2 separate regions of the Homo sapiens genome follow, and region 2 is linked to region 1. The links are contacts of gene promoters, found by promoter capture Hi-C in blood cells and fetal thymus (Javierre and others, 2016). All regions are on one chromosome and are shown on one strand. The core of a region is centred on a gene start or on the middle of the fragment in contact, and the rest is flanking DNA. Distances in the headings are between cores, read along the strand shown.

What was found. Contacts are between HindIII fragments. The CHiCAGO score rates a contact against its expected background, and 5 or more counts as called.
Region 2: a contact is called between a fragment that was not itself captured here and the fragment with the promoter of BMP2K in region 1, in 1 of 17 cell types (M2 macrophages). The highest score is 5.1, in M2 macrophages.

Annotation. Positions count from the first base shown.
Region 1 is chr4:78,773,141-78,778,986 of GRCh38, forward strand. BMP2K (BMP2 inducible kinase) reads left to right here and starts at 3,210. Exons shown (of 16, transcript NM_198892.2): 1 at 3,210-3,581. The coding sequence starts at 3,404. It overlaps BMP2K-DT (BMP2K divergent transcript), which reads right to left and starts at 2,830. Exons shown (of 1, transcript NR_186689.1): 1 at 515-2,830. RefSeq lists enhancers at 2,446-3,076, 3,709-4,339 and silencers at 2,543-2,792, 2,883-3,552, 3,914-4,114. The HindIII fragment of the contact is 15,970 bases long and covers 1-5,846 here.
Region 2 is chr4:80,045,139-80,050,984 of GRCh38, forward strand. The region is part of intron 7 of ANTXR2 (ANTXR cell adhesion molecule 2); the gene reads right to left. Among named protein-coding and RNA genes, the nearest start is that of ANTXR2, 25 kb to the right of the region's middle. The HindIII fragment of the contact is 2,406 bases long and covers 1,301-3,706 here.

The DNA.
Region 1 (5,846 bases), core at 1,960-4,459:
CGAAATTGTTATAATTGTTCTAATTTATTATTGTTGTTAACCTCTTACTGTACCTAACTTAAACCCTGAACCTTATCAAAGGTATGTATATATAGGAAAAAACATTATATATAGATGGTTTGGTTACTATCCTCACTTTCAGGCATTTACTGGGAGTCTTGGAATGTATCCTTCCTGGATAAGAGGGGAAATACTCTACAACATTTTTGCTTTTTTTTGGGAGGGTCTTGCTCTGTCACCCAAGCTGGAGTGCAGTGGTGTGATCACAGCTCACTGCAGTCTCAACCTCCTGGGCTCAAACGATCCTCCTGCCTAAGCCTCTTGAGTAGCTGGGACCATAGGTGTGCACTACCACACCTTTCTAATGTTTTTGATTGTTAGTAGTCTTTGCATTTTTAAGTTATATGTTTGTTATTGAGTGTTACAGAATATTGTGACGTTAACGTACTATAAAGATGGGAGGATATCCAAATTTTGTCACATGCTTGGTGAGAAAAATCAAAGAACATATTGCTTGGTGTTACCCTCGTCTTTCAGAGGGGGTCTATACATTATTACACATTTAATTATACATTTATTATAATTATACATTTCAATATCAAAAGTCAAGTTACATTGGTACATACAAGTAATCTTTACCACATTAATTGTAAATTGACTTATTTATTTACTTAGAGACAGTGTCTTCCTCTGTTGTCCAGGCTGGAGTGCAGCTGATGCTATCATGGCTCACTGCAGCCTCGACTTCCTTGGCTCCAGTGATCCACGCACCTCAGCTTCCCAAGTAGCAGGGACCACAGGCCTGCGCCACCCCACCAAGCCCAGCTAATTTTTGTATTTTTGATAGAGATGGAAGGTCTCACCATATTGCCCAGGTTGGTCTTGAACTCCTGAGTTCAAGCAATCCACCCACCTCGGCTTCCCAAAGTGCTGGGATTATAGGTGCAAGCCACTTTGACTGGTCAAACTTTTGTTTGTTTTTAAGAGACACCCAGCCTGGAGTGCACCAGTGCCATCATAGCGCACTGCAGCCTTGAACTCCTTGGTTCAAGCGATCCTCCTGCCTCAGCCTCCTGAGTAGCTGGGATTACAGGTGCACCACCACCATACCTGGCTAATTTTTAATTTTTTTTTTTTTTTTTTTTAAAGAGATGAGGTCTTGTTATGTTGACCATGCTGGTTTTGAACTCCTGGCCTCAAGTGATCCTCGTAAACTAACTTTGAAACTTATTATAGCAGGCTTGTTGTGATCAGGTGAAGTTATATCAGGCCCAAACTTTGTATGTTTGTCTGACTCCAGTTTTGAATTGCATGAAATGACTTAATCTTTCCATTATTCTGCTTAAAAAACAATTCAAATTTAGGAATGAGACTCCACAATGAAGCCCCACAGCAACGAAAGTGGTCAGCTTGTTTCTAAATGGAAATCCCCAACTGCCACACCACATCAATCATCTGACATATAATCTCACTTCCACTAAGCTGGAATCTACTTTAAACGTCAGGTCTCTGGATGAAGAATTTTAGTTTAGTGGGTTATGTAGCAGAAATGCCTAAATCCAGAGCACTATTTTAGTGTTGGCAGAAATAGCTTCTCTTCAAATAGCAGGGAAGAAAGAACAAGGATTTTAAGTTCAAAGTTTTTGTCTAAGCACATTTTCTAATGTTTCTACCCGTTATCTCATTAAAAAGAATAAAGAAATAGGGGTGGGGATAGAACCACATTCATCTACTTTCATAGAAGGTGCATACTGGAGTCCTGCAGATACAATTTATTTGATCTATATTTTAAAAATTAGGGAAATGCCACATTAGAAAACAGTTCCAGGTTTTTGGTTCTCTTAAGAAACTGGAACCTCTGGGCACAGTGTGTGTGCCTATCTTCTTTTGTGGAAAAGTAGGCTGGAGCTGAGAATTGGCTGCTCTCTTTACACAGGCTCTACAGTTTGCCATTCCCTACCACTCCTGAATGTTTTACACCCATATTTATTTTGTTGCTTCACCCTGCAGTCGGGAGACTCCTGCAGTTTATGAAATTGATACAACAGGGCTTTTTTTTTTTTTTTTTTTTTTGGTAGGGGGTGCAAATCTCTTTGATTTGAGGGGAACGCAGTGGTCGCTTTTGCTTCCAAACAGCCTTAAATCTGCCCGTTTTTCAACGATCTGACCTTACTTTTTCAGGGTGGCCAAAAGCACAAAATTATGAATCAAAGAATGGTCCCCAATTACCACGAGCCAGCTGTGTGACCTTGGGCGACTCCGTTAAGTTCTTTTAGCCAAGAGTGATGAATGGTCTGCAAAACGACCTTAATACCTGTTCTGAATACCCCCACATGGCTGTGGTACAGCAGGCGTGAGATGTTTAAAGTACTCCTAAGTAATTTATAAACTGCAAAACGCTTCCCAGCACAAGCGTCCGCTACAGAGCGCGACGACACCGAGCCGGTTTAGAAGTCCAGTTACTGGAATCCACTCCAGTTCCGTCCTGCTCCCACCTCCTACGCTCAGGGTGGGCGAGCGGAAGGAGACTCTCAAGGGAGAAGGCCTGGAAAACTGGCTAAGAAACGAAGCGAGAAGTTCCTCAGCAGGGGTAAAGTTGTTGGCGGCATTTTTAAGCCCCTAGAGTGGCACAGCGACTCCCGGTCGAGATGACGGACCCCGGTGCGTGACCAGCGCGGGAGCCAGTCCCGGGCCACCTCCCTGCTTGAAGTCGGGCCTGGCCAGTACCCTCCCGGCGCAACCCCGGACCCGGGACCCCCGACTTTGCCCTAGTCCCCAACCCCCACAATCACCTCCCTTGGTCCCCCTCCACGTGACAAGAGCCGGAACCGTCACTTCCGGCGGCGCGGGCAGCGCGCCTGCGCGGGTCGCCCGGCCTCAGTGAGCGGTTGGCAGCAGCGCCCCCCCCCCCCCCCCGCCAACGGCCACGAGTGGCGGGCGGCGCGGGTTCGGCCGGGGCGGCGGCGGCGCGACGGGCTGCGGTCCTGCGGGTTTGTGGCCTGAGACGTCTAGCCCACTCCCTGGAGGGGCCGGCCGCCCAGCCTCTTTCGCTCTCTTCCTCTACCCCGGCTCGCGCTCCAGGCGCTTAGTGAGGCGGCGGGACGCCCGGGGCACTGGCGGAGGCGGCGGCGTCGCCCCTGGATTCGGACCCGCCCCCTCGCGCCCCGCCCCGTCCCCGCCCTCCCCACCGCCCTCTGCGGGAGCCGGGCAGCTGCAGCGGAGCCGCGGAGCGGGCGGCGGGGCCCAGGCTGTGCGCTTGGGGAGCGCGGAATGTGAGGCTTGGCGGGCCGCAGCACGCTCGGACGGGCCAGGGGCGGCGACCCCTCGCGGACGCCCGGCTGCGCGCCGGGCCGGGGACTTGCCCTTGCACGCTCCCTGCGCCCTCCAGCTCGCCGGCGGGACCATGAAGAAGTTCTCTCGGATGCCCAAGTCGGAGGGCGGCAGCGGCGGCGGAGCGGCGGGTGGCGGGGCTGGCGGGGCCGGGGCCGGGGCCGGCTGCGGCTCCGGCGGCTCGTCCGTGGGGGTCCGGGTGTTCGCGGTCGGCCGCCACCAGGTCACCCTGGAAGAGTCGCTGGCCGAAGGTACGGGCGCCCGGGGAGGCTCGGACAGGCAGGTGAGGGAGGGTTGGGGTGTGGCGGCGGCTTCTCCGGGTCCTCGCCCTCCGGACTGACTCTTATACCCCATTCTTCCTCTGCTGCCGGGCCAGCGGGGGCTCCTAAAGAGTGGCTCGGGCTTTCTCTCTTAAGCTGGCTTTTCTTGCCGCTGGCTGCCCCGGCCGGTGCACAGTTCTCTCATGCCTAGTTTAAATCATTTTCTGTGCTTTTTGACGCGAGAAAATAGGTAGTAGACGGGCTAGGAAGTGGGTTGGTGTTACGATTGGGCCAGTGACTCATTAGAGGGTCAGATCGAACAGGGTTGAAGCTCCGTTCTGCCAGCTGTGGCTCAGACGGGTGTCATGCGTTGGCCTTTTCATCTAAGCCTCCACCCGCGCTGCAGGGCATAGGACCCTGCAGCCCCTGGTGTCAAGCTGGGCTTTGCTGCAGCTCAGTCATCTGTTGAAAAACAATGTATTTGTGTGCATGTGTGCGTGTTGGAGGTGATCCTTTGCTCTAAATTCAGTTAGTAGGTTGCACTGAGGAGCAGGTAAACTTGGAGCCCATTTATCTTTGTTATTTAGAATCTTCTCTGTTGGACAAGGTGCTATTCATGCCCTCCCAGTATGTCTCTTTGATAGTAGTTTAAAAGGTGATATAAAAGCAGGTTAACTTTCACTTAACGAGGTTTTGTGGTCGGTCCTTCATGATCTGGAACAGGTTATGACGGCAGGTAGAAGTCTACTTACAAAAAAAGTTTACTCCATTTTAAAAGAAGAACTTAGAATTTAGTTTTGTATTTCTGGCATAATTGCCTTGTAGAAAATACTTGCCCTGTGTGCTGCATGCTTCATTGGCCTTTGAGTTTTTAGTTGCAAAATGATACTACAAAATAAACACTTTAAAAGAAATACTTTTTGTTGATAAATGGCCCTTTTAAGTTCTATGGTTAAGATAAAAAAAATCGAAGAGTGGATTCAGTTCTCCGAGCGTTAGACGTTGATGTGGTTTGAAAACAGTAGACTGAGATTCCGCTTGTATTTTTTGAAATGCTATACACAACAGTAAATTAGCACAAGGGAAAAAACCTGAAGATTTTTGTATAAAATATTTGAAAGAGAAAGAAATCGTGAATTATTCAAGTGTACATATCATTGTTTCGTGAACCATTGCTCAGAATAATGATCTTAGCCGAAACTTGGAGAGGTGGGAGAAGGAGGATCCTTAGTTTTTCAGAAGAATGAATATGTGGTGAGTGGTCTTTATAAAAGATTTACTATACTATAAAGTTTTCTAGCTCTTTATTACACATGAATTTCAATTATTGGTTTAGATTGTGTTGTAGGTTTTAAAAGCACATGGCTCTTCACTCAAATGCCATATTCTGTCTTTGAATTGTTTTAGTAACTAATTGAAATGTAGCTTGAGTAGTGTTACACTCACTCATTCCACTAAATCCCAGATGGGTCTTTTATTTAATAGAAAAAAAATACTGACATTTCACAAATTAGATTTTGAATTTGTAACTTGTATTACTCACTACCCTAAGCATATCTTATCACTACCCTAAGCAAGCCATTTTCAATAAAAAAATAATTTTGGAAAGTAATAAAGATGAATTTCAAAAGGAGAGTTCGTTCAACCACAACGAAGAATAAAAGTTTATTTCAAGCGCTAATGTCACTGTTAGAGTGTTCCACTGACTTTTGCCATAAATGTATCATTTCTCTTGAAAAGTCAATAATCAAATGCTAGGAGGAAGCAAGGACTGAAGAAATCCTTTTAGAAGATGAAACTTCTCCATCCTACACCCCAGCTTTAATTTCCTAGAAGGGAGGCCAAGGCCTAGGTTTTCTTTCCTTGTGTATTTTTTCTGTCTCCATCACCCACACAACTGGAATTGTCTATGTATAATCAGTTTAATTTTGATCCTGGCCGGTCTTATTTCAGATGCTTAATATCCCCTCTCCCTTCCTAATAAATAGTGCCACAATTTAGACAAGATGTTTAAGCACAAGTCTAGTTCGCATTTAAGCGTGATTAATCAATAATTGATGGGTCTGCCTGATCATAAGATTGGGTCATGTACTTGTGAAAATGCATTCAAGTTTAGAGTACTTGATTTGGGGAGAGGGATACCACTGAGTAGGCAAAGCGGTAGAAGCTAAGATAGACCAAAGCACAGACTTGGTAGATTTTGCATTTTTTGTTTTGGCCCAAAGTTGTTTAAACAGAGCCAGGAAGACTCAGTAG
Region 2 (5,846 bases), core at 1,254-3,753, 1.3 Mb after region 1:
ACAAAAACAACATGAAGAGAAACAAACTTAAGTTATGTGTTATCTTCTTTTTAAAGTCTTATTTTAGGTAGAATATATAAAAAGAGAAAAGGGGTATTAACTCCCATTAAATGGTTTCCTCTGTAATAACATTTTTTAGGATCAACTCTAAATAATAAGGCTTTTTCCTCCCCAAAATAGATTATTTCTTCATATATACATTCACATGTGCTACCTAAAGTTCTCCAAAATTTTTACAAATCTATTAAAAATTCTAAATATTCACCTCAGCAAGAATTTTTTGACACTGATTTTGGATCTATAACATCACTGGCAACCGATCATCACAAATAATTTACAAGTGCTCCAGGTGTGTCCTTAACAGATAGAAACTGCCAATTTCCATGACCCACAGCATGTCAGAAAATATTGGCAAGGGTAGTAGAGTCTAAAAAAGCAAGGTTTTTTTTTTTTTTCCTGACTCATTGAGCAGCTTTAAACACTAAAGGATTCATCCCCAATACAAAAAGATTTCAAGTTTAAATCAGGAGAAAATATATGAAAAGTATTAGTTTTAAAGGTCTAACAAAATGAAGCTTTAGTAATTAGACATCCAACTGCATAACATAAGCAGCAAAAACAACTGGAAAGGTGTTTCTCATCCTCTTGTCTTGTTTCCTTTTCACCTTTTAATATTCAGATGTGTGATTTTTATTTTTTCTATGGCTTCCAAACACCCCAGCCAAATATATTTTTCTCTAAGGGGTAATACTTCAACTAAGAACAATTGCTATTTTATAATCACATGTTTTGGTTGAGTTCATTCCTTAAAAATGCTTAGAGCTTCAAAATATCAGTTGCTCAATACAGCACACACCACTCTGACTAGTTTCTAAATATGGATTCTCTTCTGTCTTGCAAGTAAGCAAGGAATAAAAGCACACATGACAAATTTCTAAACAAACTTTTACCCTAAGAGAACTGTGGAAGAAGGTAAATCATACTCATTGTCTTTTAGTCTTCTGAGCTCCAAACAAAACAGATGGATAGTTCTGATTACATTGTTGATGAACATACTCTCATATAATAAATCTTTTTTAAAACTTTAGTTTCTTCCACATCTCACAATTCTGATATTTAAAATAAATCATATTAGCAGTCTTGCTGTTTCATTACAATATAGAAAAAATTCCAAAAATGCATAGTTTGTGATTGGAAACAAGTTTATCTGCCACTACTTTTTGGTTTTGCTGTTGTCGTTGTTGTCTTTGGTCACCACAAACTCAAAATAATCATTTAATGCTAGCTTAGAAAATAAATAAGCTTCCTATAAAAACTGCCTTGAACTTATGAGATAAAATAATAATAAATAGACTATTTCAGAATTTGAAGAAACTTGTTCATGGTATAATTTTCACTCTGATGCAAACATTATTTTGTATTAGCCTTATTTGCCCACTTTCTTGTTTTACTAAGACATGAAGTATATCTGCCAAGCAGTCTTAGTCTATATTTATTCCATTTGATTTTTCAGAAATCCAGGATGGCAAATGAAATGTTTCCCTATGCAACAATAATAGAAAAAATATCTTACTAATTCTTCTATTAATTTTCCAAATACACATCCTAAAAATTGTAAGCTCTGAAGAGTTTGGGGACCATACCCATTTTGGTAATACAAAACACAGCAAAGTGTCTTGAACACAGCCCAGTACCCAACAAATGCTTCTGAATCAACTGAGAATTATTATATTTGGAGAAAATGAAGTATAATTGAGAAATTGTACATTTTTCCTCATAATGTACACCAAATGGTACATTTGGTGACAAATATTAACCATTTTCTGCACCTGTTCAATTTCCTTCCACTCAATTAAATCTGCTTTTAAGAGCAGGTAAGCCTCTGTAGGACACCTTTTATAGTCCAACAGGTTAATGTTAAGAAATTAAAATTTGGAATTTCATTTTATCTGTGTAACCAAATGTCATCAGTTTAGTTTAGTTTTCTCACAAACTATCACAAAGCTGTACTTATTTATTCAAAGTGGATTTAATTTTCTTAAACTACAATCCCAACCAAATTTTTTTTAAAAAAAAGAAAATAATAATATTATTAGGGAATATTTTCATGCAAATACAAATACAGCTTTGGACAGTAGAGGCCAAAATAAGATCAGTTAATAAAATGAATAATTTAAAGGAAACTTTCTATGTTTATTATCAAGTGGGATTTCGGAGGAATGGGGTGTCTTCTTAGAATATATGTCAAAATATTTTAAATGTATTTGAATATAGTGAGCTGTCATCACTACTGATTTTTTTGTTCCTACCCTGGACACTTTTGCACCCTTACACTTCTATGAATAGTGCTCCTTTCTATTTGGGAAACTCTTTTCCACTCCATGTGGTCCTAGTGAGGCTGTGAATCACAGTGCCTTCTTCTCCCTCTCTCCCTTGCCCCCAACAGAATTGGTACAGGAATGAGCTCATGACTCAACCGAATCAATTAGAGTTCTTATCTGGGACCCTATACACTGATGCAAAGACAACACCCCTCACTTTCCAATATACTTGCTGAGGACCATGTAAGCCTCCTTTTGCAATTACAGTTCACCACCATTCATCTAAACAAGGAATGAGGCAAATAGAAACATAGGCAAAACTTACTGAGAGAGAAGACCCTGACAACATGATTGATTCCTTGGATCCAGCTGTACCTGAGGTAATTTCCCTCTCTGGACCACCTAGTTACAGGCCAGTAACATTCTATTTTTCTTTTCCTTAAACTATTATTAACTGAGTTCTTGTCATGTGAAATCAAAAGAGTCTTAATACAGTGAAACATAAATATGAGGATGAAATCAAATTTATATGAAATCAGGGGTTAATTATCTAATGTTCAAATATACCATAACTACATTAGAAAAATATAAAAACATTTTTAAGAACTTGCATAGATTTTTATTCATTTTATTTATTTATCTAATGCACATGGAATCAGAGGTTAATTTTTAATGCTCCAATATACCATAACTATATTATAAAAATATAAGAATATTTTCAAAAACTTGCATAGATTTTATTTACTTATAATTCAGAAATATGAATTAAGCAATGACTACTTACCCAACACTAGATTAAGCATTAGGTAAAAAAAAAAAAAAACAAAAACAGGAGTTGGGGCAATACAATTTCAACCTTCATACCATTAATGTGAAAGTTATTATAATGAAATACCTCATCTACATTCAGCGCTAATGATCCTTGGACAAAGAGAAGCCTAGAATAATCTGATATACAGTTATTCTTACATTATAGCCAGTCCTTTTTAACAGGAGTCCTGAAAATTGGTTTCCAGTTTTGAGTAAGTCCTACCATTTTTGTTTCTCCTATGAATGTATCTTTACAGTTGCTCAGGCTTCAGGTTTTTCATCAAACCGTAATTTTACAAATAGAAGTTTTCACAACTAAGTGGTCAACATTCATAGCAGAGTGTGCTAAAATCACTTAAGCTAAGGTATTATCAGAGTGTTTATTAGGTTCCCTCTTCTATGAAAATGATTTGCCTTAAGAGAAAATGTGTTTGCAATGTCTTCTCATTCCATTAAAATATAGTGTTAGACAATATAAAATATAGTGTTAGACACTTTTCTTCTTAGATATTTTTCTAAGAACAAACAACAACAGACATTGCTGAGAAAAAAATTCCACTCCAAAAGTGAAATGAAGCTTATATCTCCAGCACTATGAATGTAGGTACTTTTTGAAATTTCACTTTTCCCTTTAGAAACTATCTAATTCAGGTTTATTTAAATGTCCTAAATGTATGGATGATCGTTCCCTTCCTATTTATGCTTGTATACTTTCCCATTAAAAACTTAGAAACTCTGGCATTAACTACCATCACCTAGGATGTAGTGTTCTCAATTCTTTTGGACAAGGGTTATTTATAAAACATGCTTCACAACTGATTTATTTCTTTCTGCTTAATACTTTCTGAGGTATTCTTAAAAAAAATGTGGGAATAATTCCAAATAGTGAAACATCCCATGGTCCTGTTTTTACACAAGGAAGGGCACAGAACATTTTGATTTTTATTCTTTCCATATTATTCACCAATCTGTGGTTTTCTTTTATTTTTAATGTTATCTTCCATAGTCTGCATTATGAAACATTGAACTAGAACCCACAGGGTACTCACATCTCAGTCTGACCTTTACTAGTTCAAATAAAATTTCATTTTCAAATATAAGTCATGCAATCACCTTCCCAAGAACACAAAAATAATTTAACATTCCAAGGATTTAAAGATAATCTGAAGTGGAAAGTGAAAAAGAGAATATATATATGTGCTTGTGTCTGTGGACAATGGGAGGGGAGAAAGAAAATGAGGAAGCATAATGACAGTAGGGTTTTCTAGCCTTTCCATTCCACCTGGCCTCTAACTCCCTAAAGGATATCCCCCACTGGGCTTTTGTTCTCAAGCTCAAATCAACTTCCCCCTCTGCCCTATGCCTTCTTCCATTTTGTACAATAACCCTCTTGTCCCCTCTGTAAAAACAGTTTTTGCTCTATTCTTAGTCATTCATCTTAGTCAGGGACAGAATGCCCAAGTTACTTTTGACTCCTCTCTCTGTCTCTTGAACCCTATAGCCAGTGAGCTCTCAAATTCTACTAATATTTTAATGCTTCCCAAATTTAACGTTTTACTTCCAGTTTCACTGCCCATCCTAATACTAACAATAATTAACATTTGACAGCTAATATTTGCCATGTCTCTCGGAGCCCAGCTCAACAAGAGTCAAAGATTTTATACCTGGAGGTTTAGCCCCACCCTGTTCCTGACATGATGCTTGCCAGAATAAAGAGGTTATTAGGTGCTTCCCTCATGATCCTTGACCTAGTTCCATTGCGAAAGACAGAATCCCAGTGCCAAGAATAATCCCTAAGGAACTATGATGATCCACTGTTTCTTCCAAAACTACTGAGTTTCTTCTCTGAATTTCTAATTAGTACTATAAGTCCCACCACAGGAATTGTGTCTCTCCTCTGAATGTGCGGTCCAGAAATTCTACATAGCTTTTGTCATGGGAATACTGAATTTTGTTTCCAAGTTGTTGGCTAGGTCCTGATCTTACGGCTTGAGGATTTAATACCAGCGCACATCCAAATGCTTGACTTTGTGTGCTACACTATCTAAAAATCCTTGTTGTCATGACTCACATCCTAAATTTGATCCTCTTACATGTCAGTGCCATGTCCTTTTGTACCTAAGACCTTGTTTAAGTAGATTGGGGGTCATCTCTCTCAGTGGACTGCCCGACAGAAGGATCAGGAGCCCCATCATTAGCCCTGGGTTAGTTTCCTGCCATGCCTAGCTTTCTACCAAATGATTTAAAGCCAAGCCCTTCTAACTTAGGTCATTCTCAATTGTTATCTCATTTAATTTAAAAAATAAAACAACAAAATGGAAATCACTATTCCCATTTGACTGAGGGTTTTAAAACTCAGAGAAATTACATTGCCGGACATACCCCAGGTCACTTGGCAAGACAGAGTTGGAATTCACACCCAGGTTTTCCTATTCCCAACTGCATTTTGTCTCCACTATGCTGTGCTTCCTTTCATCGTGTCTCACAAGGATGACAGCAAAATACTTATAACACATCATCATCTTCCAAATCATCTTGTACATTATTATAAGAGTACTCTTCCTAAACCTGCATGGCCATTATATAAATCCCATGCTCTAAATTAATCTTCGATAATTTCCTACTTATTTATGAAATATGAGCGCATTCTCAAAACAAGTATGTGAAAGTCTCCATAATCTGAATCCACGCTACCCGTCAATGTTTATCCCCCAT